5 separate regions of the Homo sapiens genome follow, and regions 2, 3, 4 and 5 are each linked to region 1. Evidence: promoter capture Hi-C in 16 types of primary human blood cells and fetal thymus (Javierre and others, 2016). All regions are on one chromosome and are shown on one strand. The core of a region is centred on a gene start or on the middle of the fragment in contact, and the rest is flanking DNA. Distances in the headings are between cores, read along the strand shown. Region 1 holds the start of PID1 (phosphotyrosine interaction domain containing 1). Region 2 overlaps DAW1 (dynein assembly factor with WD repeats 1). Region 3 overlaps SPHKAP (SPHK1 interactor, AKAP domain containing). Region 4 overlaps DAW1 (dynein assembly factor with WD repeats 1). Region 5 overlaps DAW1 (dynein assembly factor with WD repeats 1).

What was found. The method cuts DNA at HindIII sites, captures the fragments that hold promoters and counts their contacts. A CHiCAGO score of 5 or more calls a contact.
Region 2: a contact is called between a fragment that was not itself captured here and the fragment with the promoter of PID1 in region 1, in 5 of 17 cell types (M2 macrophages, endothelial precursors, M0 macrophages and 2 more). The highest score is 17.8, in M2 macrophages.
Region 3: a contact is called between a fragment that was not itself captured here and the fragment with the promoter of PID1 in region 1, in 1 of 17 cell types (endothelial precursors). The highest score is 9.6, in endothelial precursors.
Region 4: a fragment that was not itself captured here is called in contact with the fragment with the promoter of PID1 in region 1 in 1 of 17 cell types (M2 macrophages); the score reaches 17.4 in M2 macrophages.
Region 5: a fragment that was not itself captured here is called in contact with the fragment with the promoter of PID1 in region 1 in 2 of 17 cell types (M2 macrophages and endothelial precursors); the score reaches 8.9 in M2 macrophages.

What each region holds. Positions count from the first base shown.
Region 1 is chr2:229,269,864-229,272,563 of GRCh38, reverse strand. It overlaps PID1 (phosphotyrosine interaction domain containing 1), which reads left to right and starts at 1,277. Exons shown (of 3, transcript NM_001100818.2): 1 at 1,277-1,550. The coding sequence starts at 1,521. The HindIII fragment of the contact is 3,085 bases long and covers 1-1,995 here.
Region 2 is chr2:227,897,426-227,900,125 of GRCh38, reverse strand. DAW1 (dynein assembly factor with WD repeats 1) reads right to left here. Exons shown (of 13, transcript NM_178821.3): 6 at 1,845-1,944. Among named protein-coding and RNA genes, the nearest start is that of DAW1, 27 kb to the right of the region's middle. The HindIII fragment of the contact is 2,988 bases long and covers 1-2,700 here.
Region 3 is chr2:228,043,880-228,046,579 of GRCh38, reverse strand. All of the region lies in intron 3 of SPHKAP (SPHK1 interactor, AKAP domain containing), which reads left to right. Among named protein-coding and RNA genes, the nearest start is that of SPHKAP, 140 kb to the left of the region's middle. The HindIII fragment of the contact is 2,724 bases long and covers 46-2,700 here.
Region 4 is chr2:227,876,060-227,878,759 of GRCh38, reverse strand. The region is part of intron 1 of DAW1 (dynein assembly factor with WD repeats 1); the gene reads right to left. Among named protein-coding and RNA genes, the nearest start is that of DAW1, 5.8 kb to the right of the region's middle. The HindIII fragment of the contact is 4,250 bases long and covers 1-2,700 here.
Region 5 is chr2:227,924,234-227,926,933 of GRCh38, reverse strand. It overlaps DAW1 (dynein assembly factor with WD repeats 1), which reads right to left. Exons shown (of 13, transcript NM_178821.3): 13 at 2,590-2,700. Among named protein-coding and RNA genes, the nearest start is that of DAW1, 54 kb to the right of the region's middle. The HindIII fragment of the contact is 1,243 bases long and covers 758-2,000 here.

The DNA.
Region 1 (2,700 bases), core at 28-2,527:
CTCTTTGGTCATTCTATGTCCTGAGTTCTTCCCACCATGTTCTCCTCTCCCACTCTTCATCAGCTCGAGAATCAGCTTAGTATCCCTGACTTGCCAAGTGCCTTTAACCCCCAGCCCTAGACGGATGCTCTTTCCACTGGGTTTCCATGGTCAGTTAGAGGCGCAGGGCCACATCTCCTGCCCTGAAGTCATCTGACTGTGCACTCTCTAAGCCACTCACTGGCTGTGTGACCTGGACAAGTGACCTAAACCTTATAAGCCTCATTTGTTTGATCCACATGGTGAAAATATTAATAGTTATTTTGCCGAGTTGTCAAGAGAATGGGAAGGGCTGGCCTGTTTAGGACAGGAAGTCATCTCATGGTGGCCGGCACTAGCCGGGGAGCCTCCAGGCCTGCGAGCCCAGAGCGGCTTTCCCTTGGGTTCTGAGAGCCTCCTGCTGCACCTGGCAGATCTCAGGATGAGTTAGTGATTCGGGAGTCTGCATGGCCCTCCTCACCCCTGTATAGGTTAGGAGTCGAGTCCTCTCCCCATCATGAAGCATGGCCTCTTCGTGGCCAATCCCTCTCATCTCTCAGGTCTTACTCCAGGCATTCCCCAGGGCCCTTGTCTAAGAAGCTCTCCTCTCCCCTTCTTCCCACATCTGCCCTGTTTTATCACCACCCGATATAGCACCGGCTTGTTGATGTGTTTGCTCAGTCACGACTCTCTCTCCAAAGCAGAAGGTAAGCTCCAGAGAGAAGGAACATTCTCTTGTCTTCTATTCTGCGTCGCTGCATCCTCAGAACCCAGCATAGGGGCTGGAGCCTAATAGATGCTCAGTTAACTGGAGTGGGAAGAATGAATGGAAGTGTCTCCCTAGCACAGCGCCAGGCACAGCACAGGCACTTCAGAGATGCCTGTTATATGGAAACCCGGGACCCCCGGGGCTACGGTTTCCTTATTTTAGGAATTTCCCCCACCCCCGCCACCCCCGACATCCCCGCTGCCCCCACCACCCCCGGCTCCAGGCCCTTCCCCCCTCAGCCAGTCTGTCCCTTTTCCCAGACCCCAACCCAATGGGGGCTTCCTGCAGGGAAGGGCCGGCTGTTCTAGCCTCCCCATTCACCCCTCACTAGGATTTAGAGTCGGCCGCGCTGCACTCCCGCCCCGCGCGGCCCCTGGGCGCCCGCCCCGGGCATGCTCAGAGCGCGCAGGTCCGGGCGGCGGCGGCGGGGGAGGAGGGAGCGGCCGCCCCCGCCGCCGCCGCGCGCTCGCCGGGCCCGGGCGGAGCTGCGCAGTCCTCTCGCAGCTGCGCCAGGACAGCCGGCGCGCGGCCGTGCCCACAAGTTGCCGGCAGCTGAGCGCCGCGCCTCCTCCTGCTCGCAGCCCCCTACGCCCACCCGGCGGCGGTGGCCAGCGCCAGGACGCACATCCCGCGGACACCGACCCCAGATGTAAAGCGGGACCCCAGCCCCTCGCCCCCCGGCGCGATCGACAGTCTCGCCAGCGTCTCCTCTGCCAAAACCCAGGGCTGGAAGATGTGGCAGCCGGCCACGGAGCGCCTGCAGGTAAGGGGCACCCGGGAGCCGGGGGCCAGCCTGGAGGAGGAGGTGCCCGGGCAGAGGAACCTAGTTTTTGCTTCTGCCTACTTTAGGGGATTTGCCCAAAACCATCTTGTAAGACGCATCGATGGCAACATGATGCTGTCGGTTTACCCAGCGCCAGGAACCCGGCAGGGGTATGGGGATGATGAAATTGATAAACGCACGGGTTCAGGCGTTACAACTTTTGGCTTGGAGGTGCTTGTGTGCGTGTTGGTTGGTACATATAAGGTTGGACTTTCTGACTGGCAATTTAGATTGCATTCCACTGACACAATGCAGTGGTCTGGGGTTAGGATTTTTGAAGCCAGATTTTTTTTTTTTTTTTTTTTTTTTTGTGGTCACCAGGAAAGACAGAACAAGTGATATGTGAAAGCATCCATTTGCCAATATAATGTGGAAATATCAAGCTTGGTTTGGCTTGGTCATGGTATGCTACTTATTTTATTTTTCCCTATTCATTGGTTCTCTCCCTTTATCTTCCTTAAACCCAAGCTCCTTCAGATATTTAAGAATCAAAAGTAGGTTCAGCCAGGAATATTTATGTCCTGGGTTATCCCATCAAAAGTTTTTTACTGCTGTCTCCTGAAATGCCAGACTGCCTTGAATTGGATTCTGGAAGCTGGGGATTTGCGGGAGGCGATTGAAGAGAAAGAGGGACCTTTCCCAGAAGAACTCCTTCAGTGACACGTTGGGCCTTGGGATTGCCCTGGTTGCAAGGTTTGAGGACTGCCTTTTGCTGGCAAATATTGTCAAGAGTCACGGCAGCTACTCTGCCAGATAAAATCCACTGAATCCTGCAGTTAAACTTTTGGCAAGCTAGGAGCCACATTGTTTCGTAGTAAACTTTGAAGACGTGTTTAACTGGTAAAATACAGCACCATTGGAGGCTGAGTGCATCTGAAGACTTAGGACAATGAGGCCAGGCCCTGGCTAGGTTGGAGGCTTCTCAATGAACATTTACAGCCCCAAGCACAGTTTCTCAGATGCAGGGAGAGGCTAACCTTTGTCTAGGAGTCCTCATACAGAGGAACAACCCGCAGAGGGCATTGCATTTAGCAGAAACAGATGCCCCACAGCTCCTTTCCAAAGCTCCCTGGGCCATGATTTGCGGGGA
Region 2 (2,700 bases), core at 159-2,658, 1.4 Mb after region 1:
CTATGTAAAGGGGCTTAGGACAGTGCCTCTCAAACAGCAAGTGCTGTCAAAGGGTCAGTTATGTTTCACTGCAGTATTTCCAGTCACTAGCAAAGTAACTTCAACATAGCATGAGTTCTTTATGGATGAATATACCATGAATTTTTAGGATGAGTGTAAATAAATTTTACTTCTAAAATAAGCAGCTTGTTTTTGTTCCTGTTTTAAGGTGTACATAAATAAGCAGAATACAGGACCCTTTCCCATCTCCAGGTACTTTCCTTATCCTCAAGACATATTTCCAAGCATTTCACAGTCTGTTCTAGGTATCTTGTTCCTAAGTTCCAGGGGTGGGTGTGGGTGCTAGCACTTGAACACTGCTGGCAGATCGGCTGTCACCGACTATTCACAAAAGCTGTCGCCACTGTGGCTTGCTTTTCCTCCCTCCACCCCTGTATGTTCTTGTTTGCTCTTTCTGGTTCACAGCAGGTATCTTTTTTTCCAGTGAATATTGAGGTTAAAAGACCTGTCACTCTTTGTTATCAATTTCCTCTCTTCATCTACTAATAGTTATTAGCACATTCTTTTTATGTCTCTGTTCAATTCAAAAAGTACTGAGCTATATTTCCCTACTGACAGTTACAGGAGAGGTGGTTATATTTTGTTTCCTGCTTTAGCCTTTTCTCTCTTTGACCCTCAAAAGTCTCTATTATTTTTATACTACTACTGCATTGGTAAAGTGAGTACCTTCTATTTGTGGATTCTCTTTTGGTATTATCCACTTAAGAGTAACTTCAAAGTACAACAAAGTTAGTGAGTTAAATATCTAAAGAATCATTCTACCTAATGAAGGCCAGAAATGGAGGGAAAGGTGTGATCCCCATTAACAGACCAAAACATAACTTGGGGATTTGTTAAAATCAGATCAATTTTTCCTTATTTAAATCTTTGATTAAAAAGATTTAAGGTATTACTAATCATTAGGAGCAGCAGCCTGTTTATTTTTAAGAGCTATCATCTGTTCTTATGGAATGCCAATTATTGCACTAATTGTTATCAGATATGTCTCAGAATTGGTCAAGGACAAGGGCTTCCCAATAGTGAAAGCTGTTTCGAGTATCAGACTATTTAGGCAAATTTGAGCTCTAATGATATACAGAAAACAATCAGCCTAAATATTTAAATATTTCACATAGTAGTTTAAAAATTATTTTAAAAACTGTTTTCATAACTTAATTGACCCTCATTGAGTCAGTACTTTAAAGAAAAGCCAATTAAAAAGTAAGATTGGTTATTATATTTATAAATTTATCATATTACGTGTCTACTTAGTCAATGTAGGATACAGTTCTTTACAGAATCTGCAAGATATTAACTAGAGTAATTTTTAAATTGTATTGGTACCACCATATAAATATAGGCAGACTAAAAACATGGGGTAGAATTTGAAAATTAATTATAAAAGTAGCCCCACTACTTTTATAATAGAATCCTAAAAAGAAACAGCAACATAAAATATAATAATAAGGCCAGGTGCAGTGGGTCCCGCCTGTAATCCCAGCACTTTGGGAGGCCGAGGCGGGTGGATCACGAGGTCAAGAGATTGAGACCATCCTGGCTAATACAGTGAAACCCCATCTCTACTAAAAATACAAAAAATTAGCGGGGCGTGGTGGCGGGCGCCCGTAGTCCCAGCTACTCGGGAGGCTGAGGCAGGAGAATGGCATGAACCCAGGAGGCGGAGCTTGCAGTGAGCCAAGATTGTGCCACTGCACTCCAGCCTGGGTGACAGAGTGAGACTCCATCTCAAAGAAAATAATATATATATATACATAAAATAATAATAAATTGTTAAATATACTCACTATTTCTGCTGTATGACCCCTGAAGGTATGGTAACATTTTCCTGTTTCCACACTCCAGAGTTTACAAGTTTTATCAAAGGACCCAGTGGCGATTTTGTCACTAAGATTTAAAAGAAATGTAGATTATTTAAAAAAAGACACATTATATAATAAACTGAACTAAGATGAGATATTAATACATGAGTAAAAAATTTACTTCACTTCTAAAGCTATAAGCAATCTTAAATTTGTTTCAGTGGATAATAAAATAAAAGTCTAATTTTTGAGTGGTATCGATTTACACATTTAATTTTAAAGGTTTTATATTAAAGTTATAGGTATATTTGTTTGGGATTATAATAATTTTTAAAATGAGTTTAATGAATGTAGCAAAAGGTTTAGTTTAGAAAATTACTTACAAATTAAAATAAATAATGTATAGTATGAACTGTGTAAACATAGAAAAATTATGTTAATAAGTATATGGAAAAGAATAACATTGAATATAAAAGAGAAATGAAAAAAGATAAATCCCATTAAAAATATGGTTAATAAGGTTTTGAGAATTTAGACGGTGCTTGTCCTCTTAAGGAAATAATGCCTATATTATTCCAGTTGTAAGAGGGTTTAGAAAGGAAATACAAAGACTTCAGTCACTTTCAACTAAGAGGCTTCTCATATTGACTGCGGGGCAGAGCTAACATCAACAACCAACAAGCAAGAGTAGATTACCCTGTTTGGCCTTTGATCTTGGAACTAAAACCTTTCTTTTAACCCTGGCTTACAACTGTCTTTTACACCAGCTCTTCAAGATGTTCACCCAATTGGATTATCATTTACAGTACAAGCTCAATTTCCCAAAGTGTAAGAGATCTCA
Region 3 (2,700 bases), core at 158-2,657, 1.2 Mb after region 1:
CAATGATTTTTGGTAGCATTAAAGAATATGAAGTGTTGGCAAGCTTTTTGAATCACCTATTTATTTTTAATACTTGGTTCCACAACTGGAATTTAAGTGCAAAATTTATTCACCACAACTTAGCACCCTGAGCTCGCTTAAGCTACTGCTTGCATCGTAAAGGCCATTTTCCTAAAAGTCATTGCCTAAAACAAGTGAAGTTCAAGGGAGTAAATTAGATGAAGAACACAGAAATCAGGATATACATCGTTTTTACCAACAGAGACCAAAAAAAAAAAAAAAAAAAAAGAATAACAACAGTATTCAGCATGCAGAAAATGTTTTGAAACACGGATTTTTATTGTTTTAGTTTACTTTGAAATATTTAATGAACAAACAAAAATTGCATATATTCAGGGTATACACCTTGATTTGACCTATGTATACATTGTGTACTGATTACTGTAATCTAATTATCACAGCCATCACCACCCATAATTACCGTATGTGTGTGTGTGTGTAGGGGGTGGGATGAAGGCAGTTAAAATCTGCTCTTTATCAAAATTCAAGTAAACAATATAGTACAATTAAGTATAGTCACCATGCTGTACATTAGATCTCCAGAACTGATTCATCTTAAAACTGAAAGTTTATTCCCTTTGACCAATTTCTCCCCATTTTTCTCATCCCCCAGCCCCATGCAATCACCATTCTACTCTCTGCTTCTGTGAGTTTGGCTTTTTTAGATTTCACGTATAAATGAGTTAATACAGTACTTATCTTTTCGTGCCTGGCTTATTTCATCTAGCATAATGTCCTCCAGATTCTATTTTTTTTCTTTTTTTTATTATTATTATACTTTAAGTTTTAGGGTACGTGTGCACAATGTGCAGGTTTGTTACATATGTATATATGTGCCATGCTGGTGTGCTGCACCCATTAACTCGTCATTTAGCATTAGGTATATCTCCTAATGCTATCCCTCCCCGCTCCCCCAATCCCGCAACAGTCCCCGCTGTGTGATGTTCCCCTTCGTGTGTCCATGTGTTCTCATTGTTCAATTCCCACCTATGAGTGAGAACATGTGGTGTTTGGTTTTTTGTCCTTGCGATAGTTTGCTGAGAATGATGGTTTCCAGCTTCATCCATGTCCCTACAAAGGACATGAACTCTTCATTTTTTATGGCTGCATAGTATTCCATGGTGTACATGTGCCACATTTTCTTAATCCAGTCTATCATTGTTGGACATTTGTGTTGGTTCCAAGTCTTTGCTATAGTGAATAGTGCTGCAATAAACATACGTGTGCATGTGTCTTTATAGCAGCATGATTTATAATCCTTTGGGTATATACCCAGTAATGGGATGGCTGGGTCAAATGGTATTTCTAGTTCTAGATCCCTGAGGAATCGCCACACTGCCTTCCACAATGGTTGAACTAGTTTACAGTCCCACCAACAGTGTAAAAGTGTTCCTATTTCTCCACATCCTCTCCAGCACCTGTTGTTTCCTGACTTTTTAATGATTGCCATTCTAACTGGTGTGAGATGGTATCTCATCGTGGTTTTGATTTGCATTTCTCTGATGGCCAGTGATGATGAGCATTTTTTCATGTGTTTTTTGGCTGCATAAATGTCTTCTTTTGAGAAGTGTCTGTTCATATCCTTTGCCCACTTTTTGATGGGGTTGTTTGTTATTTTCTTGTAAATTTGTTTGAGTTCATTGTAGATTTTGGATATTAGCCCTTTGTCAGATAAGTAGGTTGCCAAAATTTTCTCCCATTCTGTAGATTGCCTGTTCACTCTCCAGATTCTATTTTAGTAACTAATTAGCATCATTGTCAAAGGAAACAAATATGAAAAACTAGTTGTTATCCTACTCACTGTAATAGATGTTCCCTCTTGTATTTTGTTTTGTTTTTCTCCAATTACTTTTTCTATGTATTTATTCATTATGTGTCAACTATAGTTTGCAGAATTCCATTTTTCAAAGGCTTGAATTTAATGGTCATTTTTTTTGAAAAGTGAGTTACCTCTCAACACTTGGCAGTCTGTTAGAAGATTTAAATTAATGAGTTCCTAAAGCATCCAATCTATAGGGATAGTAATTCAGATACATGCCTTGGGCTAAAGTTTTCATATGCAGACCTGGAGCAGGCCAAATAGAGTGGTTCTTAGAGTACCCGTGAAACTAAGAACCACTTGATGTCTTTTATTAATATAGATATTCAATCTGGATAATTCCGTTAAAAAAAGAAGCACCTCTCCTGCATTTGCAACTATATTTTAGGACTAAATCCTCTAAATATTTTTCTACTTCCCTATGTAGAGTCACTCAAGTTGTGCCTTTAGTCATTGCTTTGAGTTGTTGGGATTTTTAATAAATTTTACCTATACCAATGAGATTGCAGCATGCTTAATTATTAAAGATGTACAAAGTGTTTGCTCAATTATACCTGAGGCTTCTTGGAGAGGTTAAGTTTGGAGTTATTTAGTAGTTTGGTTGTCAAACATATGAGAGATGAATGTTAGATGTTTGGTTTAGATAAACTATTTGTATTTTTAAATTAAGTTCACTATCACTTATTCACCATGATTCTAAGTATATAAATTATCTTTTATCTATTCTAAAATAATTGAGCTGTTCAGATTACAAACATGACTTTCTACCTTTTCTTTTTTCATATTTTCTCTGTGCAAATGTGTATGACTTTCAGAAAAGG
Region 4 (2,700 bases), core at 107-2,606, 1.4 Mb after region 1:
GATAGGGATCGACATATTTTCTTCTTCATTTTGTTAGAGACAGAGTCTTGCTCTGTTACCCAGGCTGCAGTGCAGTTGTACAATCATCACTCACTGTAGTCTCGAACTCCTAGGAACCCATGCCATTCTTCTGCCTCATTTTCTTGAGTAGCTAGGACTATAGGCCCATGCCGCTATGCCCAGCTAATTTTTTAATTTTTTGTAGAAACAAGATTTCACTATGTTTCTCAGGCTGGTCTTCAACTCCTGGGCTCAAGCCATCCTCCTGCCTCAGCCTCTCAAAGTGCTGGGATTAAAGGCAGGCACCACCATGCCCAGTTGATCAACATTATCAGAATATAAACCCTTGAAGATCAAGATCCCTAAAAAGCTATTTGAAAATTCAAGAAAGATACATACTTTAAACATACAAGTTCTGTATCAATGCAAGGTGTCACTATCATCAAGGGAGTGTTTCTTTCTGTACTATAATTTTAGATTTTTTGCATTATATATGAGGGTATTTACTATGTGCTATTTATTATTGAGGAAATAAATGCTTGAGTAAATAAATGATGTACACAATGAATAAGCAATAAAATAATAATCTGTAACTCAGAGAAAGGTTGGAAAGAATTAGCACTTGGCAGTCCACAGAGTATGATCTAATACCCTAAGGAAATGCATTTTTAACATTTTAGCAAATAAGTTAACAAAAGTCTGCTTTCTTTATTCACTACTTGTTTGTAATAAAGTAAAAAGGTTCGAAGTCTTCAAGCTGACTACTAAAAATTGGTGGGGATGCTGTACAAATGGATCTGGAGAATACACTACAAAATTGAAACATGTACGTTTGACTGCTTCGCTGTGACAAAACCTCTAGGCCAGGGGTCCCCCGACCCCACTGGGCCCTGGACCAGTACCAGTCTGTGGCCGTTAGGGCCCAGGCCACACAGCAGGAGGTGAGTGGCGGGCAAGTGAGCATTACTGCCTGAGCTCATTCAGCCTCCTGTCAGATCAGCAGCAGCAGCATTAGATTTCCATAGCAGCAGGAACCCTATGGTGAACTGTGCATACAAGGGATCTAGGCTGCACACTCTTTACGCAAATCTAACTAATGCCTGATGATCACAGGTGGAACAGTTTCATCCCAAAACCATCCCCCTGGTCTGTGGAAAAATTGTCTTCCATGAAACCAGTCCCTGGTGCCAAAAAGGTTGTGTAACATTGATCTAGGCAATATGTTCATCCCTCTCATGATTACTGAGCTCCAATATGAGCAAAAGGCTGTGATATGTGCCATGAAGAATAAAAGCAGAAAACAAAGAGTCCGGGAGCAGTGGCTCACGCCTATAATCCCAGCACTTTTGGAGGCCAAGGCAAGTGCCTCACTTGAGTTCAGAAGTTTGAGACCAGCCTGGCCAACATGGTAAAACCACATATCTACTAAAAATACTAAAATTAGTTGGGTGTGATGGCACATGCCTGTAATCTCAGCTACTCGGGAGACAGAGGCAGAGGTTGCAGTAAGCCAAGATTGTGCCACTGTACTCCAGCCTGGCTGACAGAGCAAAACTATGTCTCAAAAATAAAAATAAATAAACAAAGATGCTGCCAGAAATACATGCTTTTCTTCAGTGACTGTTTCCCACAGTATCTTAATAATCTTGATTTTCCCTTGATTGTGCATTATTCAATAAATATAATTCCCAAAACACTTAGGTAAGAAGCCTCTATTCCTCAAATTTTTCAGTATATTAAAAGGGCATGCTTCAAATGATATTAGTATTCTTTACTTAGATTATATATTCAATCAACAGAAACCTTTAAAATGCTCAGAATGTTAACTAGTTTAGTTAATGTTGACTTAATTCCTTCTCCTGGTCTGAGAACTATGGACTTCACACAATAAATGAAATACAAAAATTGTCATAACTGAGTTAGCTGAAAAGCACATAGTCAACACCCACTCTCCCCAAAGCAAAGAGCTTATGAATTAATAAATGTGACCAAGATGAAAAGGAATGTCCCATGTTTGGTTAGCCATGTCACTGGCATGTACATTTAGCCTTTGGGAATGTAGGTAGGGAGAGGGATAATTCAGTAGATAGCAGCAAGACAATGCCCCTGACCTATACGTTATTCAAAAGAAAGTGGGAGGGCGAAAATTAGAGGATTAGGAGGCAAAACAAAACTGCTCTATATGCAGAAGGGATAAAGGTAGCACGGGAATGATTCAGTGGAATAATTTTTCCTATCTGATAATGCTATTATTGAAACACCCACCTGCTATTCAGTAGTATCTTGGAAACTTGCATATGATTTGGCTCACCAAAGACTGGAATTCAGAAATTAAATGTCAAGCATGCTAAGTAATATGACCTCATTATAAGATAAGCATTAAGGCAATAGTCGCAAACATGAGTCAAGAGAATTACGTGAGCCTAAGAATCCTAGGCTTGGCCGGGCACAGTGGCTCACGCCTGTCATCCCAGCACTTTGGGAGGCCAAGGCGGGTGGATCACGAGGTCAGGAGATCAAGACCATCCTGGCTAACACGGTGAAACCCCGTCTCTACTAAAAATACAAAAAAATTAATTAGCCTGGCGTACTGGCGGGCGCCTGTAGTCCCAGCTACTCAGGAGGCTGAGGCAGGAGAATGGCATGAACCCAGGAGGCGGAGCTTGCAGTGAGCCAAGATCATGCCACTGCACTACAGCC
Region 5 (2,700 bases), core at 130-2,629, 1.3 Mb after region 1:
GCAATTATAATAGTAACATCAAAGAATACTGATCATAGATCACCATAACAGATACAACAGTTTGAAACATTGTGAGAGTTACCAAAAAGTGACACAGGGACACAAAGTGAGCACAGGCTATCGGAAAAAATGGCACTGACAGACTTGCCCCAGGCAGGGTTATCACAAACCTTAAATTTGTTTAAAACATGTAATATCTGAGAAGTGCAATAAAGTGAATTGCAATTAAACGAGGTATGCCTGTATAAAGATATATGTAATATCATTTAGCCTGGACAAAGAAGAAAATTCTTTCATTTGCAAAAACATGGATGACCTAGAGGACAAAGTGAAATAAGCCCAACAAAGAAAGACAAATACCATATTATCTCACATATGGAATTTTTAAAAGTAAAACTCAGTAGAAACGGACTAGAAGAGTGGTTACCGGGGGTCAAGGAGTGGGGAAAATGGGGAGAGGTTTGTCAAAGGGTACAAACTTGCAGTTTCAAGATGAATTAGTTTCAGAGATCTAATGTACAGCTTGATGACTACAGTTAAAAATAAAGCATATTTGAAATTTGCTAGAATAGATCTTAAGTATTCTCTCCACAGGGGGGAAAAGGTAACTGTGTGAGGTGATGGATTTGTTAATTAGCAGTTTGACTGTGGTAATTATTTCATTTTGTGATATCAAAATATCACATTGTATACCTTGAATAATACAATTTTTATGTGTCAGTTATACCTCAATAAAGCTGAAAAAACTAATAAAGCTTAAGAGGTTTGCTTTTAGAAAAAAAAGAAGCAGCCAAATTTTGGCAAAGTTTTCTCCAATCTAAGTTCTTGGCTTCATCATATTGGAACCTCCTCTTCCCAACAGTCCCAACAAAGGTTTGGTTTATTTTTTTGTGTGTTTGTTTACTTAATTTTTTTTCCTTTATTAATTTTTTTTGAGGCAGGGTGTCACTCTGTTGCCCAAGCCAGAGTGCAGTGGTGTAATCACAACTCACTGTAGCCTCAACCTCCCAGGCTCAAGCAATCCTCCTACCTCAGCCTCCCAAGTAGCTGGAACTACAGGCCTGCACAATCAAACCTGGCTAATTTTTAAATTTTTTGTAGAGATGGGGTCTCACTATGCTTCCCAGGCTGGTCTTGAACTCCTGGGCTCAAGGAATCTTCTGACTTCGGCCTTGCAAAGTGCTGGGATTACAGGTGTGAGCCAGCACACCCGGCCTGTGTTTGTTTTATTTTTTTCTTCTTGAGGGTTAACATCTATAGATAACCCAAGAAGTAATTCTCACTTCAATTCATCCTACCTATACATCTGACTCTCCTCTCCCATATTAAATCTTTTCTACTTAAGAACACAGTGTAATGGAGCCAGCATCCCTGGTTTCTAAAACCAACATCACCACCTAATATCCAGATGCCCTTGGCAAATTACTTAACTTCTCAGGGACTCACTTTCCTCATTTTTAAATCAGGGCTTGTATCTACTTTGTAACAGTTGTTAGGAAGATTAAATGAGATGTTCTACGTAAAGTGGTTGGGCATTACTGGCACATGGTAAGCACTTAGCCATATTGGTATTATTCACATTATTAAGAAAATGAGTTCTAGAACACATTCTGGGGATCTGCTGTACACCACAGTACCTATAGTTGACAATGAAGTATTATACACCTTGAAATATGCTCAAAGGATAGAGCTCATTTAAAGAGCTTGTACCAGGAAACAACAAAAACCACAAAACAACACAAGGAAATGGTTGAAGATGATGAGTATATTTAGTACCTTGATTTTGATGATGGCATCATCTATGTTCAAACTCATGAAGATGTATACATTAAATATATGCAATATTTTATATATTGATTACATATCAATGAAGCTCTTTTTAAAAAATGATTTCATAAGATTTTCAGGCATTCTCTTGCTTCAGATTCAGGCCTTATTAGTGCTTGTACTTTTAACATTAATTTTAATATGCATTTGGGTACTTTTACACAAACCAAGCTTTTAAAAAACATTTTAAAATATTTCAGCAGTATTCAGGTTGGTATTTGATCATTTTCTCTCATACTTCAATCGTTTTCCACCCAGATTTTATTTATTTATTTATTTATTTAGTGTATGTGTGAGATGGAGTCTCCCTCTGTCACCCAGCCTGGAGTGTAGTGGCGTGATCTCGGCTCACTGCAACCTCCACCTCCTGGGTTCATGCGATTCTCCTGCCCCAGCCTCCCGAGTAGCTGGGACTACAGGCCCCCACCACCACGCCCGCCTGATTTTTTTTTTCTGTATTTTTGGTAGAGATGGGGCTTCACCCTGTTGGCCAGGCTGGTCTCAAACTCCTGACCTCAAGTGATCCACCTGCCTCTGCCTCCCAAGGCACTGGGATTACAGGTGTGAGCCACGGCGCCCGGCCCCACCCAGATTTTTAAATGCAATAGTCTGAATATTCTGTTTAACTTTTCCTTAGAAATAAACCTGCCAACATTTTTCTCAATGTATCAATACAGAAGATATTTGCCATTAAATGAGATCCGCATTATTTCCCTTACTTCACCCTAAAAACATACATCATAAATACACATGTACAAGGAATTTCCTCCAAACACTTTATTCAACAGAAATTATAACAATAGGCTTCAAAGTAAAATCCAGGAGACACGTTGTTAAGTTGTTCTGGTCTCCTTTTTCAGTATCATAATGCTT